Regions from separate parts of the Homo sapiens genome. Here region 1 is linked to region 2. Evidence: promoter capture Hi-C in 16 types of primary human blood cells and fetal thymus (Javierre and others, 2016). All regions are on one chromosome and are shown on one strand. Each heading gives the region's core, a stretch centred on a gene start or on the middle of the fragment in contact. The rest is flanking DNA. Distances are from core to core; before and after follow the strand shown.

Region 1 (3,091 bases), core at 480-2,979, 260 kb after region 2:
CCTCGTCTGTCCCAGCCCCTCGGTTGCTTGTCAGTAGACTCAATTACCACCATCTTCTGATCTGAATCAATTTGTTAATCTCCTTCCTCTCAGGCACAGTGCCTTTTACTGGAGATAAACATGCAAGCAAGTTCAGTTCACCCAGAGCCCTCCACATCCTCTCCCTCCAAGCCTTCACACTCCCAAAGGGGCCCAGAAAAAAAAGAAAGAAATGATATGGCAAAATCCCACTCTATCCACATCACCTCAGGGGGCTTGTTTACCATAACTTTAGACCAACTACCATTTTTGGGGAGAATCTGAAAGAATATTGTTTATGGGCTAGGTAAGAGCTAACAGAAATGGCAGTTTCATTCTTCCAATATGAGACAAGCGTCTCTGTGTGACCCAGCCCTAAAACTCACAAACCTAGACTCCTCAAACTCCCCATACTCCAGAGTTCAAGGATAACCTGCCCTCCATTTTTCCTTATTGTTTTCCATATAAAAGTCACTCGTTGTTTCCCCTCCAGCTTACACCTGGCTCCTGAAATGACTCCTCTGAATCCTCTGAGAATCCTCAAAACATGTAAAAGCCTCATTCCTTTTAATGCATGTGCAGAGCGGTGATGGTGTGAAGACGCTGGCACTTCAAACGTGAACGTGGCACGAGCCCTGCCCTCAAGGAGCCCACAATTTTCCCTCAACTCTAAAAAAGGATGTCCTCCCTGGACAGTGTCTGTAAAACACAGTGACAAAGTACTTCATAGCTCTGGAGAAAGAGCGAGGGTGGAAACAGACTTTGCCCTTACATTTGACGCCCAGTAACCATAACAACCGATGGTTTAAGTAACTATCAACCCACTGAGGGGCTAAGTTTTCCAAAAATCGTTTTCAAAAGGGGAAGACTCCCCTGCACCAACTCCCATGGCAGCCGTACGCTCTAGGCAGCGTGTGGTGCAATGTGGCCAGCCGTTCCCCGCCTTCTCCGGTTCCACCGTATGGTTTCCGTGCTCAGCAGCCAGCAGCGACGGCGTCCACGGCCACACCGCCTCCCCGCAAGGCACCTGGCGCTAGGCCTCAGCCCAATGTCACTTGTTAACCTTCCGATCCCCCGGATTTCGGCACGCCGCCGCCTCCCTGCTAAAGCACACAAACCACCCCACCGCCACCCGCGTTCTCCAGGAGTTGGAGAAAAACCACCGGGGCGCATACAACCTCTGACAGATTCGAGTAAAAGTAACTGCGGTTCTCGACTTTCAAGCATTTCGCGTCGCCGGTGAGGGGGGCGGCAGGAACCCGGGGCCCCATTCATAAAATTGCAAGCCGTTTTCCTCTAGTTTGCGCGTGACGGTGCCTCCCTGCCCGGGGCCGGGGACCGCAGGCTGAGGGGACGGGGCCGGCAGCTCCTCCCGCCGGAGTCGAGCCCGAGCCATCCGGCGGGGCCCCGAAGGAAGGGATTGCCCGGGGGTGTCGCGGGTGGGCGTCCCCTTCAATACCTGAACCATGACAGCGGGGTGGGGGGCCGAGCCCCGCCACGCCAAGGGCCGCCGGACCCGACCGGTACTTTGAAGCCCGCGGGGTCGATCCGCGCCCAGCCCGGGCCTTATCCGCGGGGCGCTCCCTCCACCGCCCCCGCCTGGCCCTGAGACTGCTCACCCAAGATCCGCTGGCTGCCTCATTGTACTATGCCGGCGCCCGTGCTCCCGGCCGCGCGACTCCGGCTTCGGCTGGGGCACCGGCCGCGGTCCTGCTGCCCTGCCGCCCGCCCGCCCCCGGGCACACGCCGCCCCGCCCCGCCGGCGGACCCGCCCCGCGCCCGCGGCCGCCGCCGCCAACCAGAGGGCGCGGGGGCGGAGCAAACGGCACGCCAGGCCCAACCAATCCAGTTCTACCGCGCGCCGAGGTGAGGCCGCGGAAATGGGGGAGCGATTTGTCAGGTCTGTTAAAGGGGCCACCGCCCTTGGAGCTAGGGAGAGGAGTGGTGGGGAGGGTTACCTGGAAGAGCCCCAGGTGAGGGGGACAAAAGCTTCACTCTCCCAACGGGGCTGCACACTGTCCCCAGCTCTTTGCACTTCTTAATTTCCTCTTCCTGCAGTCTAGCAGCAACAAGTGCCCTTGAGACGAGGGCTGGGGGTTGAGGTGGGGTGACTGAGGCGCGGAGAACCAGGGGTATCCCCCTGGGCAAATTCACTCGATTTGCATTTTAGAGGGCCATCAGACGTATCTATCCCCATCCAACTGCAGACATTGATTTAAAAAGGCAAATTCCCAGTTTCCCGCATTATGTACTTCCCCCACCTGACTACCACACTACCACATCCTATCCTGAACTAACTCTGTTACTAGTTTTTTTGTTTGAGACGGAGTCTCGCTCTGTCGCCAGGCTGGAGTGCAGTGCCGTCATCTGGGCTCACTGCAACCTCCGCCTCCTGGGTTAAAGCGATTCTCCTGCCTCAGCCTTCCGAGTAGCTGGGATTACAGGCGCGTGCCACCATGCCCAGCTAATTTTTGTATTTTTAGTAGAGACGGGGTTTCACCATGTTGGCCAGGATGGTCTCGGTCTCTTGACCTCGTGATCCGCCGGACCCAGCCTCCCAAAGTACTGGGATTACAGGCGTGAGCCACCGCGCCTGGCCACGAGTTCTTAGAGCTTAGAACTTATATAGTATTAACTACTCATTTTTAGAGAGGCAATATCTGAGGCTCAGAGAGGTAAAGTGACTTCTCGAGGTAAATTCTCACTTAGAATGAGCTTCCTGGGATGGCAATGCCCATTGTGCATTTATCTTCTGCGAACCTGGGTTGGCTGGCAGAAGCACTGGCACATAGGGAGAGTTCCCCCTTCCCCCGTAGTCCTTGCCCCTCTGCACTTCCCACCCACCACAAGAAAGGACCAAGACAACAAACAGATGTGTCAGTGTGTCTCCTGCATTAGTGGGTCCCAAATGTCAGATCTTCAACGTCAGATCATCCTGGAGGGTTTTAACATGAAGATCTCTAAGTCCCACCCCAGAACCTGTAATTCAGTAAGTCTGAGATGGCCTTCGACACCCCTCCCTCCAGGTGATTCTAATGCAAGTGGTACAAGGACCACACTCAGGTGCGTGTTT
Region 2 (2,959 bases), core at 174-2,673:
CATCTCAGGTCCTGTCCATTCATACACCTGGGTCTTGGCTTGGGCTCTGTCCCCAGCCTGATAGCGCCCGTCTTCCCCTGCTGCTTGGCCCCATCAAGGACTGACTTCCTTGGAACTCCATCCCTCAGCGGTCAAGTCCTCTCTTTTTCATTATCCCCGGGGCGTAGTCTTATCTTTCTGCTCTCTTTCCATGGATACATTTTCACTTCCCAACAATGCTGGGACAAGTGACCATACTGCTTATGCCTCCAGGGTTCAGATGGCACATTGCACACGCAGACACTTCCTTGGTCAAGGTTTGTTGATGATGAGCAAAATGGCTTGTTCTCTTTCTACCTGGAATGAGAATGGAGATGGAGAGAGGCATCTCTGTGTTCTACTCACTGGGGGGCTGTGACCCCAGTGCCTGGATCTCAGCTTGTTAATGGCTGTTGAAGCCATAAGACCCATGGGGACAGTAAAGTAATGCCCACAAGCCTGCTCCCCTAGAGACAGGTACTACGGAGCAAAGGAGGAGGTGGGAATGGTCTTTCTGGTTCTTACTCCAGGACTGGCAGGAAGGGGAGCTGACATGGAGAGTGGGGGAAGGGCTACTCGGGGTGCTAAGCCCAGCTTCCTGTCTGGATTTTCCTTGACTGCTGCCGGGGGCCTATCTTAGGATGGTCACAGCTGCAGAAATAGATCTCCCCCTTCACCTGTTCTTAAGCAAGGAAGACCTTGCTAACTTCCTGTCAAAAGAACGCGTGCTTTGGTAACTTTTCCAGTACGGGAGACAGTACTGGGGACGCGGGTGCTGAAGTCACCACGATTTTCCTCGTCTGAGGAGCAGTGGCTCACCTTGGCCAGGAAACAGGGCAAATAGCCGCAAGGAGAGAGGCGAGAAGCCGGCCACGTGTTTCCAGCCAGAGTCCTCAGCCTCTTCCGTGAATTCGGGCGGTGTTTCCTTCCTTGGTCTGCTCCAGAAACCACTCTTTCCTGGCAGGAAGCCCCTCTCTCTGTCAGAGTGACAGGGAACAGACCCTTTGTCCTCCTCACTCGTCTGCCCTAGCCCCCAGCCTGCTCCTGCAAAAGTCTCTGTTTCTCCTGAACTTTTCAGCTGAGTCAATCGGGCTCTGGGACCCCGAAACCAAGCCTCCCCAGTCACTCGCTTATTCACTCAACAAACACACCCCCCTTCCCCGCACTAACCCAGGCCCAGTTCTGGGAACCAGCAAGGGGAGGGGAGGGGAGCCCCGAGCAGCGCGGCGGGAGGTGGACATGCCGGGGAGGAGACTGGCCTCCTGGTGGCGGGGGAGGGCTCCTGGGGACCCCAAGTCCGCGGAGGAGGAGACAGGAGGGAGCAGGGAGATGGAAGACCCAGGAGCACGGGCGGGCTCCGCGCATGCGTGGGAAGAGACCTTGGCGTCCTCGGCGTCGCCAAGGCAACCGGCGCCAGCCATGGCCTCTGGGGCGGGCGGAAGCTGGGGTCGCTCCCCACCGCAGAGCGCAGTCCCGACGGTGAGGGCTGAGCCCGGGAGCAGATCCTGCCTTAGCTTGGGAGACGGCAGAGTGGGGAGCTGTCCCTGGAGGGGCCAGATCCTGGAGGGGTGGGGGACGAGGAGAGACAGCCCCAAACCGAGAGGAAGAGGCGTGGCAGGGAGCAGGGAGGCCGCGGGGCGGGGAGGAGAGAACCTGGCCCCTGCGGGGTTAGGGAGGCCACTGGCCGGGGGGGTTGGGGCTCGCGACGTGTCCCCATCCATTCCCCCCACCCCACCTGGCTGACTCCGCGCACACCCCCAGCCCTGGGTCACCTTCCTGCAGCCCCTCTCGTGGGCCGTCCCACCTGCGCCCCCGCAGCCAGGCCGCGTGAAGGAAGGTGAGACTCCCGGGTCCCCCCACCCCACCCCCACCATCACCACCACTCACCCTCTTCTGCCTCGCACATCCTCTGGGAGTCCCCGCAGCACAACCCGCCAACCCATTCTTCACCCCCGGGACAGGGGTGTCAGGGGGAGGGGGACTCGGAGGCCCGGCGTGGGCTTGCTGAACCCCGCTTCCTAGACCTGCTGGAACTGATGATGCTGCAGAACGCGCAGATGCACCAGCTGCTGCTGAGTCGCCTGGTGGCTGGAGCGCTGCAGCCCCGGCCTGCCTCGCCCTGCCCTCAGGTGCGTGTGGGTGGGCCGCCGGGGTCGCTCACCTGTGGGTCCAGGGATGCGGATCCACCTGGGGTTCCTGTTCAGGGGGGAAAAGAACTGGGAGACAGAGGAGCAGGAAGCCAGCCCGTCTCTCTGGCTGGGGCTGTTTGGCATCTGTCATGTTTCAGCCTCCATGAAAGGTTGGGGCGGGGAAGAGACCCCCCAAAGTCCAGACCACCGAGGTCTTGTTTTCAAGGAGGTTTCCCTGTAGTGCCTCCCCCACTGGACTTAAGGCTCCAGGAAGGTAGGCACCCTGGTAACCCTGCCCCATGCATCATGAGCGTCTGGCCTGGTGCCTGACACCGTGTAGGGGCTCAGCTGATATTTGTTGAACGAGTGAATGAATAAATGAATGGTTAGGGATACAAAGCCAGGTTGGCTGTGATGGCACATGGAGAGGTACAAAGCACAAGTGCACATAGGGTTGGGGGATGGGGACAGGCTCCTTGGAGGAGCAGAGGATCTTAGAACCAGCCCTTGAAAGCCAGGTAGGATTTTGACCCTTGGAGGAGGCGAAGGGTGTGTCCCCCATCCAGGCTGGCAGGGGCAGAGTCAGGAGACAGAATGGGGGAAACCGTGTGCGGCAGTGTGTGTGTGCAAGAGTGTGTGTGTGTATGTGTGTGCAAGTGGGTGTCTGTGTGCATGCGTGTGTGTGTGCAAGGCTGTGTACATGCATATGTGTGTGCAAGTGTGTGTTCACGTGCGTGTGCAAGGGTGTGCGTGCACGTGTGTGCGAGCGGGTTGTGAAGGCAAGTGTGTGCGTGCAAGCAAGTGTGTGCGTG

What was found. The method cuts DNA at HindIII sites, captures the fragments that hold promoters and counts their contacts. A CHiCAGO score of 5 or more calls a contact.
Region 1: the fragment with the promoter of TEX2 here is called in contact with the fragment with the promoter of PRR29 in region 2 in 8 of 17 cell types (monocytes, fetal thymus, neutrophils and 5 more); the score reaches 10.2 in monocytes.

Annotation. Positions count from the first base shown.
Region 1 is chr17:64,261,531-64,264,621 of GRCh38, forward strand. It overlaps TEX2 (testis expressed 2), which reads right to left and starts at 1,730. Exons shown (of 12, transcript NM_001288732.2): 1 at 1,638-1,730. RefSeq lists a silencer at 1,318-1,927. The HindIII fragment of the contact is 6,481 bases long and covers 1-2,005 here.
Region 2 is chr17:63,996,928-63,999,886 of GRCh38, forward strand. PRR29 (proline rich 29) reads left to right here and starts at 1,424. Exons shown (of 6, transcript NM_001164257.2): 1 at 1,424-1,497; 2 at 1,780-1,855; 3 at 2,041-2,147. The coding sequence starts at 1,438. PRR29-AS1 (PRR29 antisense RNA 1) reads right to left here. Exons shown (of 3, transcript NR_126169.1): 1 at 1,398-2,959; 2 at 838-995; 3 at 1-336. RefSeq lists a silencer at 1,307-1,356 and an enhancer at 1,610-2,587. The HindIII fragment of the contact is 13,369 bases long and covers 1-2,959 here.